Linked DNA regions of Homo sapiens: region 1 is linked to region 2. The links are contacts of gene promoters, found by promoter capture Hi-C in blood cells and fetal thymus (Javierre and others, 2016). All regions are on one chromosome and are shown on one strand. Each heading gives the region's core, a stretch centred on a gene start or on the middle of the fragment in contact. The rest is flanking DNA. Distances are from core to core; before and after follow the strand shown. Region 1 has its middle 7.2 kb from the start of SH3D19-AS1. Region 2 holds the start of TMEM154 (transmembrane protein 154).

Evidence for each region. Contacts are between HindIII fragments. The CHiCAGO score rates a contact against its expected background, and 5 or more counts as called.
Region 1: a contact is called between a fragment that was not itself captured here and the fragment with the promoter of TMEM154 in region 2, in 1 of 17 cell types (total CD8 T cells). The highest score is 8.4, in total CD8 T cells.

The regions. Positions count from the first base shown.
Region 1 is chr4:151,113,813-151,120,234 of GRCh38, reverse strand. No RefSeq gene overlaps it. Among named protein-coding and RNA genes, the nearest start is that of SH3D19-AS1, 7.2 kb to the left of the region's middle. The HindIII fragment of the contact is 3,783 bases long and covers 1,753-5,535 here.
Region 2 is chr4:152,677,790-152,684,657 of GRCh38, reverse strand. TMEM154 (transmembrane protein 154) reads left to right here and starts at 4,661. Exons shown (of 7, transcript NM_152680.3): 1 at 4,661-4,788. The coding sequence starts at 4,725. LOC105377495 (a long non-coding RNA gene) reads right to left here and starts at 4,573. Exons shown (of 4, transcript XR_939359.3): 1 at 4,354-4,573; 2 at 3,985-4,071; 3 at 3,518-3,583; 4 at 2,996-3,295. RefSeq lists enhancers at 4,578-4,887, 4,198-5,027. The HindIII fragment of the contact is 2,211 bases long and covers 2,919-5,129 here.

The DNA of each region.
Region 1 (6,422 bases), core at 2,395-4,894, 1.6 Mb after region 2:
TTTTTTTTTTTTTTTTTGAGACAGGATTTAATTCCCTTTGACCAGGCTGGAGTGCAATGCAATGTTGGCTCACTGCAGCCTCTGCCTCCTGGGCTCAAGTGATTCTCCTGCCACAGCCTCCTGAGTAGCTGGGACTACAGGCGCACACCACCGTGCCCAGCTAATTTCTGGTATTTTTTTTTCTTTTTGTAGAGACAGGGTTTCGCCATGTTGCCCAGGCTGGTTTCAAACACCTGGGCTCAAGCAGTCTGCCTGCCTCAGCCTCCCAAAGTGCTGGTATTACTGCACCTGGCCTGTGGTACCTTATTTATCTTTGTATCTCTAGTCCTTTGCACCATTCAGCCTCAATAAAGGTTGGTTGGTGGGTTGGGTGAGTTGGTTGGTTGGAATGGATGGATGGATGGATGAATGACTTTCACATACAGCAATACCATCTTGGATTCACTCAATATCTTTCCTCTTTAATTTTTGACATAAATCTATACTAAAAATTCACAGTTTTATGTCATTTCACTCTCATGTTCTATGTTGTGCTTGCCACTTATTACCTACTCAACTGACAGGAAGCAAAAAGGTAACATATGGGCTCTCGTAGATACTTTCTTTTTTTTTTTTTTTTTTTTGAGATGGAGTCTCCCTCTATCGCCCAGGCTGGAGTGCGGAGGCACGATCTTGGCTCACTGCAAGCTCCACCTCCAGGGTTCACGCCATTCTCCTGCCGCAGCCTCCTGAGTAGCTGGGACTACAAGCGCCCACCACCACGCCCGGCTAATTTTTTGTATTTTTAGTAGAGACGGGACTTCATCGTGTTAGCCAGGATGGTCTCGATCTTTTGACCTCGTGATCCACCCACCTCGGCCTCCCAAAGTGCTGGGATTACAGGCGTGAGCCACCGAGCCCGGCCTCATAGGTACTTTCTTATTCTGTATATTGATTGAATTCAAGGCAAGACTGAGCATGTTTAAGGAGAAACATAATTTTTATACTCAGTGAATTTTATGGGAGAGAAATAGGAACACATTCTGTTTCCTTTCAGGAATTTTAGGTTAAAATCTGATCTTGTTCATCTAAACCTCCTCAAACTAGAATCTCTTAATCCTTTTTCTTTGATAAATTAAACCTAGAGGGCTGGGCGCGGTGGCTCACGACTGTAATCCCAGCACTTTGGGAGGCCGAGGCAGGCGGATCACGAGGTCAGGAGATCGAGACCATCCTGGCTGACACGGTGAAACCCTGTCTCTACTAAAAATACAAAAAATTAGCCGGGCGTGGTGGCGGGCACCTGTAGTCCCAGCTACTCGGGAGGCTGAGGCAGGAGAATGGTGTGAAGCCAGGAGGCGGAGCTTGCAGTGAACCGAGATCGCGCCACTGCACTCCAGCCTAAGCGACAGAGTGAGACTCCGTCTCAAAAACAAAAAAAAACCTAGAGAAGCCTTTCCAAGCAAGGCGACTCAGTTGAAAAAAAACCTAGAGAAGCCATTTAATATATTATTCTTATCCTTTGAACACTAAAAGCGTTTTTCTTTAAAAGATGCCCTTGTTTACATGGCTAGAAGGGTAATGGAATATATCTGTCATTGTGCTCATATAAATCACAGGTCTTGAATTCAGTCTGTAATATTCAAAATGAAAGAAAGTGCGTTTATCAGAATTTATTAGTAGAACTTGCATTTGAAAAAAAAATTTTTCTATAAGATTGTAGATCAATACTCCTAACATTCATTTCTTAGTTTTTACTCAGTTTCTTAAGCTTACCTAAATATACCTAGAGAAAATAATGATGACTGTATGGACTAATAATTATAAGGCGATATATTCACTTTGGTATAATCATTAATGGTTTATTTCTTTTAATTAATGTCAAATGCACATGAGCCATATGATTCATGATTCAATGTCATTTTGAATGCCATTGAATGAATTCTTCACAGTGAATTTATTATTTTATTTTATTGTATTGTATTTTAGAGACAGGGTCTCACTTTGTTGCCCAGGTTGGAGTGCAATGGCATGATCTTGGCTCACTGCAGCCTTAGACTCTTGGCCTCAAGTGTTCCTCCCACCTCAGCCTCCCGAGTAACTGGGACTACAGGCATGTGCCACCATATTTGGCTAATTTATTATTTTTTTCATTTTATTTTTTGAGGTGGAGTCTTGCTCTGTTGCCCAGGCTGGAGTGCAATGGCACAATCTGGGCTCACTGCAGCCTCTGCCTCTCAGGTTCAAGTGATTCCCCTGCCTCAGCCTCCTGAGTAGCTAGGATTACGGGCACGCACCACTGTGCCCCGCTAATTTTTTTGTATTTTTAGTAGGGACCAGGTTTCATCATGTTGGCCAGACAGGTCTTGAACTCCTGACCTCAAGTGATCCATCCGCCTCGGCCTCTGAAAGTGCTGGGATTACAGGCGTGAGCCCCGGCATCCAGCCTAATTTTTTATTTTTTGTAAAGACGGGGTTTCACCATGTTACCCAGGCTGGTGTTGAACTCCTGAGCTCAAGCAGTCTTCTCGCCTCGGCCTCTCAAAGTGCTGGGTTTGCAGGCGTGAGCCACCTTGTCCAGCCAACTGAATTTTTTTCAGAACTAACGTGAAGTCATTTTCTAACTTGTGCCTTTTTACTTCACTGTAATTAAAGAAGGAAAAAAAATAGAAAGCCTGACTCAGAACAACACTACCATCTAGGGGCCGCTCTCTTAATTGCGAGCTCATCCTGTTATACCACAGAAGAGAGCCCTTGGAGACCAGAGTTCAACTTGCAGAGGTTAAATGATTTGCCTAAAGTCACAGTTACTTGCAGAGCCTAAAGTAAAACCTATCTCTGCGGATTTCCAATCCAGTTCTTTTTCCGTTTATTATGGCAAAGTGATAACATTTTTTTTAGCAGTTAAACAAGAAGAATTGATCCGTTTCATTGGCCTGTAGTGGTTGTAGCCTCTAATACTTAACGATTAGAAAGAATTACACAGTATGTATTAAAGCCTTGAAGTTTTATCCTTCAGGAAGAAAAGTCCTGTCAGCTTCTTGGTTTTATGTGGACAATTTATATTGATGTTACCTAGAAACTGAAACATGAATGGATCCACTAATGTGGATTCCTTTTTCTCTTTAATAGAAAATATTCAAAAATTTAGAACATCAGATCTTGTACAGCTGTATCTTGTAGGGCTGTGCCCTTGGCAACAGTAGAGCAATCATAAATCTAGATTTTCATTAAAATATAACACAAAACACTGTTATTAGTATTTTGGAGTATAATAGATTAACCAAAGCACTGTTAAGCTGATAGATTTATATTTCAGAGTCTGAGACATATTCTGATTTTTTTAAAGGAATTCTAATTATATGTATACCATGGATTATTTATCTTCAAGTACTGTAAATTAGGCAATAATTAAATGAAATATTTGGTTGTCTATGTTTCACAAAAATTAACTAACAATACCAAAATATTGGCCTCTGGCTGAGCACTATGACTCACGCCTGTAATCTCAGCACTTTGGGAGGCCAAGGCGGGTGGATAACCTGAGGTCAGGAGTTCAAAACCAGCCTGGCCAACATGGTGAAACCCTGTCTCTACTAAAAATACAAAAATTAGCCAGGCTATGGTGGCGTGGGCCTGTAATCCCAGCTACTGGGTGAGGCAGGAGAATTGCGCAAACCTGGGAAATGGAGGTTGCAGTGAGCTGAGATTATGCCACTGCACTGCAGTCTGGGCAACAGAGAGTGACACCATCTCAAAAAAAAAATGTGTGTGTGTGTATATATACATATATGTATATATGTGTATGTGTATATGTATGTGTGTATACATGTATGTGTGTATGAATGTATACGCATATGTATATGTGTGTACACGTGTGTATATATACATATGTATGTGTATGCATAGTATATACATACATGTGTATATATACATATGTATGTATATGCATAGTGTATACATACATATGTATGTATATGCAGTGTATACATACATATGTATACATACGTATGTGTATATGTATATATACGTATACATGTATACATGCATGCATTTATACATATGTATGCACATATATACATATACACATATGTGTATACACATACACACACTTTAAATATATACATACATATACACATACGTATGTATGCGTGTATGTATATACATATACACATACATATATACATATACGTATACACAAATGTATATGTGGTAATATACACATATATACTTACATATACATGCACATATACACATATATATACATACACATATATACGTGTATATACATATATGTATCAAAAAAATAATAATAGGGCCGGGATGGATGTTATACACTTCTAGGAGCTGACACCTGCAATAATTTTTCTGCCTTGACTTCTTTTTTTTTTTTTTTTTCTGAGACGTAGTTTTGCCCTTGCTGCCCAGGCTGGAGTCCAATGGTGCGATCTTGGCTCACTGCAACCTCTGCCCCCAGGTTCCAGCAATTCTCGTGCCTCAGCCTCCGAAGTAGCTAGGATTAGAGGTGCCCGCCACCACGCTTTGCTAGTTTTTTGTATCTGTATTTTTATTTTTGAGATGGAGTTTCGCTCGTCAACCCAGGCTGGAGTGCAATGGTGTGATTTTGGCTCACCGCAACCTCTGCCTCCTGGGTTGAAGCAATTCTCCTGCCTCAGCCTCCCAAGTAGCTGGGATTACAGGTGCCCACCACCATGCCCAGCTAATTTTTATATTTTTAGTAAAGACAGGATTTCACCATGTTGGTCAGGCTGGTCTCAAACTCATGACCTCAGGTGATCCACCCGCCTTGGCCTCCCAAAGTGCTGGGATTATAGGCATGAGCCACCGTGCCCAGCCAATTTTTTGTATTTTTAGTAGACATGGAGTTTCGCCACTTTGGCCAGGCTGGTCTTGAACTCCTGTCCTCAGGTGATCCACCCGCCTCACCCTCCCAAAGTACTGGGATTACAGGTGTGAGCCACCGCACCCAGCCCTACTTTGACTTCTTAAATGATCTTAGCAAATGGAAACTCATTACCCTTCATAGCTGTCACACTTGCATTGCCTATCACAGCGTTACGTCAGAGAATTAATGACTCATTAAATTGGTATGACTGGATATTTAAAGATACTAAAGATTATTACTGAAATTTGGAGCTGTGTTAATAGGATTTTGGTTACATTTCTTTTTAAGAAATCATTTCAGAGATACATGATGAAATATTTACATTTGATAAGTTAAATTTGCTTCAAATAATTGAGGAGGAGAAATTGTCAGGAACTGTGCAGTGTTTGACATTTTACCCAACTTGTAAGCTAAACATTTAGCCTGGCATGGTTTCATGGATGTTAGCAGAAGACATGAGACTTCTGGGACAGGAGCAAAACACTTCATGATAGCAAAAGTGAGAACCAGAGTTTCGTGTTCTTATGTGTCAGTTTCCCATACCCCACCAAATCCCGAGGAGGTGATGCAAAGGGCCCATTATACAGTGAGTTGTGTGACAGGAGAGGAACACTGAGATCCACCACTTTTATAGCAAATGGAAGCAAGCTTGCTTTTTTTCCTGGGGGAGACGTTACCTCATCCTTCAAGGTTGCTCACAAGGGTGCAAACACAGCCCTGAGAAGTGGCCAGGGTAAAGAACAGTCAAGGGATTGTATTCTTGGCATACTCAGCAAGAATGTGCAGAGACACTTAGGGTATACAGCACATTGCCTCTGTCACTATTCACTCCTCAGCCTGACACATTCTTGGCCAAACTTAAATTTTTACACAAGTGTGCTACTCTGACAACCACTTCGATTAAGCTAACCAACAGAAGCCAGAACCAAATCCACTCAGTTTGTCTCACATGACGTTTAATTAAGTCTATTATCAAGACTCAAAGCAGCAGATGAAGCCAACCTGCAGTATTGATCTCAGTCTTACTCTCCAGGGTCCCAGACAGCTTACTGTGAATAATCTCAGGGAGTACCAGTAGGTCTGATTTTAGGCAGCCATGAGGTATTCTAGGGCCAGGGTATTTTATTCATTAAGACCTGTACAGAGTTTAAACTGATCTGTTAATCTCTGGTGTCGCTGCAATAATTAGACAATTGATGGGCCAGAAAGCGACCTCTGTCCTTAATGGGGAGACATCTCATGACCCATTTTTCTCCTACCCATTTTTCCCCTATATACCAAAATATAACCCCAAAGGACACAAGTCACTTTGGTTCAGGACTCGTTGCTAAACCTGATTTGTATCATCACATTGGTTAAGTCACAGGGGCAGTGTCACCAAATAGCTGCAGCTTCGGTTGCCATATACGGTATTACCCAAGACCACTCAGGCGTCAAAAGCATATGATCAGTCAGATTGAATCAAGGTTGTGTTGGTCCTGATGTCTGTATACATTCGAATTTGGGTGCTGTTGTTGATGGTATCAGGCACAGCAGA
Region 2 (6,868 bases), core at 3,412-5,911:
TAGCCAGGAAAAGAAATATTCCTAGAAATGGTAAAGACACCTGGGCTAATAAAAGTTACACAACCAAGCTTCAACTTTTAGTTCCAGGCCTCCTGGCAGTCAAGGCAAAACAGGAAAATACAACGTGCTTTTTATTTCTTACCTTTGGAGAAAAGGGACCTTTCTAGGAACTAGCAATAATTTCCAGGAACTAACTAACACATGATTCTCGAGTTTTATCTATCATGCATAAAAATCCCCTCAAACATTACAAATACAGAGTTATGGACCTCAGCTCTAGGGATTCTGACTCAATAGTTCTGGCATAGGGTCCAGGACTCTGAATTTTAACAAGCTCCCCTGAATAATTCTAACATAGGTGGCCCCCTCCAGTGCACTTAAAAAAATACTGCTGTAAAGGGATTTTCCCCCCATTTACTCACTTCTCTGTTCTCTGTCCTAAATGCTGAGGATAGACTGGAGAGCAAGACAGAGAATGCCATTGCTCTCAGAGGGCAATTAGAGGAGGACTGTGGATGTTCAGCAGTGAGCTGCTGCTCTGTCTCTTAGATACGCCCCAGCACCCTCTAGCCCAGAGCGCTGCACTGTGTCCCACGTGTCAACTGCCACTTTAGCTCCTAATCACAATCCTTTACAGTTTCATGTTGTGGTGACCAGGCCATCTACCTAGGCCCTGGAAGACCCTGTCATGGAAGCCCCTAGGATTATCCAAACCTTGCAACAGTTTCTCTGAAGAGTATTGGCAGCCAGGATGCAGAGACAGAGACCCCCAAGGGTGGAGATAGGCTGGTCAAGATGAGCCCGGCTGTGCAGGCTCCAGCTGCCCCCACTTCACGCGCAGTGAGATGGCTGTCAGCCCCTCTCCTGGCTGTGGCTTCTCTGCACACGCTAAATGTCAGCCTAATCCTTCTGCCCCAGCCTCTGCCCTGCCCGGCTACCTCTCTGGGCATTCCTTCAGAACCTGGGACTTCAATCTGCCTCCTCCCTGCACCTTCCTAGCTGGCTTCAGAGTGATACACAGGCCCCACCTGATGTTACTATTATCTTGTTTGAGGGCCAGCCCACAGCCAACCAAACACCCAGGAACCATCCACTGTCACTAGCAGGCATTTAGACAGAGAAAGAAGCTCCAGAACATTTGTATGTGAGTGTCGATGTGAGAGCGTGTGTGTGTGAGCACGTGTGCACATTTCTGAGTATGTGAGTGTGCCTGTGGGTGTGTGTTGGGAGACTGGATGTACAAATGGACAGTGGCCAAATAATATATGCAAAAACAGAACACTGGCTCCCAGCTTGCAGCAACCAACCCCCAGAAACCAATTCACTATCTTCAGTAGCAAGTCTAGGAAGCCAGCCTGCTAGAAATCAAACTTGTAGGAGGTCAGAGCACCTTCTGACAGATTCCCTCATTTTTATCTCCTCTTCTGATCTAGCAGCAGCAAAATATGCACCTCCTCACCAATCACTAGAACTTGCTGCTGGTTCCCCATGCCAGCAGCCTCCCTTCAGGCCATACCTGAGCCTTCCTTTTGTTTTTTTTCTGAAACGACTCTTGCTCTGTCGCCCAGGCTGGACTGCAATGGTGGGATCTCGGCTCACTGCAACCTCCACCTCTCAGGTACAAGTGATTCTTCTGCCTCAGCCTTCCGAGTAGCTGGGATTACAGGTACCCCGCATCATGCCCGGCTAATTTTTGTATTTTTGTAGAGATGGGGTTTTACTATATTGGCCAGGCTGGTCTTGAACTCCTGACCTCAGGTGATCCGCCCACCTTGTCCTCCCAAAGTGCTGGGATTACAGGTATGAGCCACTGCACCCGGCCCTGAGCCTTCCTTTTATCGACTGTAAAGTTATCTCATTCCTTGGCCTGCCTTTGGGTCTGTGCCAAAATGCAGCGATGGTGGCTGACTCTCTTGCTATGGCAAGCTCTGAATTAATATCCATTGCTTGGTTTCATTTGCTTGTGCTCATTTAGTCTTCATTTATTTCCACCATGTGCATGAATGTGTGTGTGAGAGACAGCTGTGTGTGTATCTGAGTGCATGTGCACATCTGTGTGTATTGGGAATGGCAGGATCGGAGTGTGAAGAGGAACGCGGAGAAGGCTGTCTGCACCCACTGGAAGATCCTATCATTTATCTGGATTTGTTCCCTTGGAGTCCCTCTTCTTTTATGGCCCATGGAGTGGTGGTGGGGAGGGGGCGGGGGGAAGGGAGGGAGGATAGGATGAGAGTCACTTCTGTAGCACAGACAGTTGATTGTAAAAGTCACACTCCTTTGTGTAAAGTAATAAAGAGTCCCTAGACATGGTTCCCAGTGTCCCTTCCTGCCCTTCTGAACATGATGAAGCACCATACTTCTTTCCTGCTTTCAGACAGCCAATGGCAGGCTCCAAAGTGGCATTACCCCTGCCTGTGTGCCACTCACTCTGAGGTTCCCCTGTGCCCCACATCTGGGACTGAGGCCCTGACTTCCTGCCACCAGTGCATCGGGATTTAATCTGAGGCTGGGTGGCTATTTGCCTAAATTAATGGTTGCTAAAATTAAAACAGAGGTAAATAGCCCTTTACCTACCACACAGCCTCCCTGGGATTTTAACTGCAGCAAAGAGATCATTGAGGTGCTACCATTTTCTGATCAATCATGGTAATTTTCTTCCCCCTAAGATCAGCTTAATCATGCTAAGGGTCTTAGAGAGCACAGGGGTCAAAAGAAAATTACATGGTTGGGCAGGATTTCTCTGCAGCTCCAGTTTATTTTGTACCTCACTCTGATTTAGTGTTGCACTGCTCAGAAGCAATGCATAGTGCACTTGTTGAAACAGTAATGAACTGTTTGGCCATGTCATGGGGCTCAGCAGAGGTCCACAGAATAAGACAGTCTGTGGTCCAATCCACAGACACCTGACTGCAAAAGCTTCCACAGGGAGCTGAAGTTTAAGATGAAAGAAACGAAGGCTGACAACCTTGCCCTTGACAAACATTTGCCTCCAGCCTGGGATTCAACAATGTTTTAATAACATTTAATAATATTTTAATAGGGCATAAATGGTAAAATGGAGAGAACTCCCAAGCCCTGGGCCTGCTTTCTTGCACGTGTGTGTCACAGCTGCAGAAACACGTGCTTGTACAGGAATAATTGCCACCCCAACTCAGTACCAGCAGGTCTTGGAGCCCGTGATCTATTCACATGCTCAGCAAGTGTTTAATTAATAGTTCTTTCTCTGTTGTTTTCAAATCAATCACCCAGTTTTGAGCACGTCTATTTTCTCCTGCTGTTTGTTCTGTATTGTCACCTGTGGTGCAAAAAGCATATTTTATCAAGAATTGACTTAATTGCCAGTTTAAAACATTAAAGTGCATACTGTAAATCCATTAACAAACTGATCCTTACATGAATCACCAACCTATTTCTTGTGAATAATAACTGAGATAAACAGTGACTAATGACATTGAAAAGCAGCAATGCATTAAAGAAAAATTAACAGCTATGTCAGGGGCTAAGGAATTCCAGTCACCTCATACGTTTGCACCAACCAGATCACTGAAGACAAACGACGGGAAGTCATGACTCAGATGGTGATCTGCAGGGAAAGGTTTAGAGATGAGATGTGTCTGATGCCTCAACACTACCCCTCTCTCCATCTGTCTGTCTCTCTTGGCACCACGATTATGAAACTGCATTCTGAATGCTTAGGCCCTAAACCTAAACCAAGGGAAGGACCTCCAATAGAACACCCAACACACACTAATCTCCACTGTATACTAGACACAACCTTTCTGTATTGTTTCGATTGGATAGGATTTCTACCATTATTCTATTTCGTTTCTGTCCTGTTTTGTTTGTTGTCTGAGAACTTGATTGTCAAGTAAGAAGGAAGGAAGGTGAGATGCAGATTCACCCCTACCTCCACCCTCAGAGCATATTCTCCTTTGGAAATGGACCTTGAAAAGATCATTTCTCTCTGGGGAAGCAGAACATAACCTTAAGGTGTGGGTGTGGCATCCACCTCCATCTGGCGTGGGCCTTGGTGGGAGGAGGGCATTCCAGAGTGGAGAAAGGAGAATGGACCTGGCGGAGAGAAGTGGTCTGGCAGTTTTCTGATGATGCAGTTGTCCCTGCTGTCTGGGCCTGCGCTATCCAACACAGCAGCCACTAGCCACTTGGAGTTATTAAAATTTTATAAAAATTCAATAAAATTTAAATTCCATCAGCACTAGCCTCAGTTCAAATGCTCAGTGGCCAATGTGGCTGATACTGTATCAGACGGCGCAGACTTGGAACATTTCCATCAGGGCAGAAAGTTCTACAGGACAGCTTCTTCCTAGGGTCTAGGCAGCCCCGGAGCCTCACCTGGGGGATAAGCAAAATCACAGAGTGAGAATGCGTGTGGTCCAGGACCCCTCCCAGTCCCAGATACCGAACGACATCTGAGCAAGGGACTCTGTTGCCCCGGGGACGGTTTCAAAAGCTGGAGGCCGGGACTCCAAAGGGCTGGAGAGGCGTGATAATAGAACCAGTGCTTCAACAGCAACTTCTCTTTTGCAATCCTTGCTGGTCTGACAGGCTCCTGCAGAATTACATCACTTCCTAAAAAACAGGCACACACCTCTCCTTCAAGTCAGCACCGACCCAAACAAGCAGGAAACAGGAAATGTTCACGTTTCAGAGAGGCTGCAGCCCGGCGCAGCATCCTGAGCGCGCCTCTGCCGAGGCGAGCGGACATGCAGGCTCCCCGCGCAGCCCTAGTCTTCGCCCTGGTGATCGCGCTCGTTCCCGTCGGCCGGGGTAAGCCGCCTCCACTTCCTACTCCTGGGAAGGAGGATCGCAAAAGCTGGTAGGGTGCCCGAGGCTACAGAACTCTGCCGGGGAGGGTGACACCCAGAAAATCTAATCCTTTCTGTGAAAGAAGTGGAGAAAATTAGAACTCCTTTTTTTGGGGGGTGGGATGGAGAGGGGACTTCGCTTTCGCTGCAGCTGTCTAAACTGGCTACAGCTCTCACTTCATTTAACCCTCTTTCAGTCTTTGTCTTCCAGGAAGTGTGCGTCCCTGTAATTTACCAGCTTTAATGGGCATATTAAGAAAACCATAAACTTTTTGGCAGTTTATGTAAAAAAAAACAAAAGCTTCAATTGGCTGAAACAGAGACATGATTAATTTGCTTTTTATGGTGTGGGCTGAGAAGTCTGCTGATTCCAAAATCTCCTGGAAAAACTGGGGTGTGAAAATTTACTACTAGAAAGCATACTAAAGAAACGACATAAACTTAAAAAAAAAAAAAGGAAACGGGAAATTATCCGAAGAGCTACCAAAGAGCTATGTGTTAGAGGGTAGCCCTCTAACACATCAAGTAAGGTCTTTCATCTACTTTTATTGCACCTTGTTACTTTTACAGATTTTTTTTTTGCATTGATTGTTACTAATGAAGATTTGTTTGAAAAAGTAATATGATTGGAACCAATCAAAGGTATTGGAAAAAACAATATTGAATCTCATTATTATGGGCTAAAAGCAACAACTGATTTACACCCTTGCCAGTTGCTACAACAAGCACAAGCACCTTCAGCTGCCTCTCTTGTTGACTTGCCTTTGGGCAAATACACTGGCTGCCCATTGTTTCTGTCAATGAACACCGACTGCTTCTAGTGTAGGGCAGTATTTACCAAGCAAAAGGAAAGTTCTCAAGCTACAGTTCTTTAGATAGAATGAGGGACATCAGCCCCAACCTAACAGATGTGACAACTTCCTGGAGGTCAGCAGCCAGCACCCAGCCACCCCACTCCATCAATTTCTCTTCCCCTGGGTGTTCTCCATGTGGTCCCCCAGGCATCTGAGGTAGAAAACAAAGTGGAAGGCAAATCATTCCAGCTGAAAAGATGTCTGGTTAAATTGAGTTTAGTGTTCAGAGTGGGTTTGGAAGTTGATGTGTTGTTTTATGCCCAGTGTTTTGGAGCTGGAAGGGAACTTGAAGATGATGCAGCTCAAACCATATTGGGCACACAGGTGAAGAAACAGAGGTGGAAGAAGGGAGATGTCTGGGTCTTGCTGCTAGTCAGCTCTTCTGGCTTCTACTCCAGAGTTCTTTGAGCTCCTCCACCCCCCACCACCACTGCCCCCCTCCCCCCACCGCCGCCCCGGAACCAATCACTGTCTCTGCCAAGAGCTCTGGAACCTTTCGTAGTAGGACATCAGGGAAGAAAAGCCTAGCCATCCTCCTTCCACCTCTTCTATTGCACAACACTGCCACAGGTGCCTCAAACACTCCCTTAATACTAATTCATCTTGCCTGAACTTTTTTTTTAGCTTCTAAAAAATGATTGAGTCCTAGTGTCTGCAATTCAGGAGATGCAAAAAGAGAATCTGAAGAGACTTGGTTAAAGTTGCCTTTCTGACACCTGAATCTGATCGTGCACATCTTCCCCCTTAAGGACCCCTCATTTATGCCCCTTCACTTGTTCCTCATTTTTGCCCCTTAGACTCTCACTGCAACCTCCTTCCCAGTGGCACCTCCTTCCAGTTGTCGTCCCCCTCCGTGGCTCTTGCCTATAATGAATACATTCTTTTTCCTACCTAGCAAATTCTTGTATCACCTTAAAAGTATCAAACTAAATGTGATCTCCTCCTTGATGTCTCCTTTCTCTGCCCCTTCCCTGGAGCTCTACTCGTACCTGCTGCTGTGCCCCGATAGACCTAAACTTCTGCTAATCACTTTGAACCATAATTGTGTCCATGCCTCCCAACTGGCTGTGAACAGCTCCAGGGAAAATCCTCTGTAGTTCACCTTTGACTTTCCAAAATCCTGTAAGGGCTCAGCATAAATGAGAAAATAATTGTTGATAAATATGAAAATCATCCCTAGAATGGATA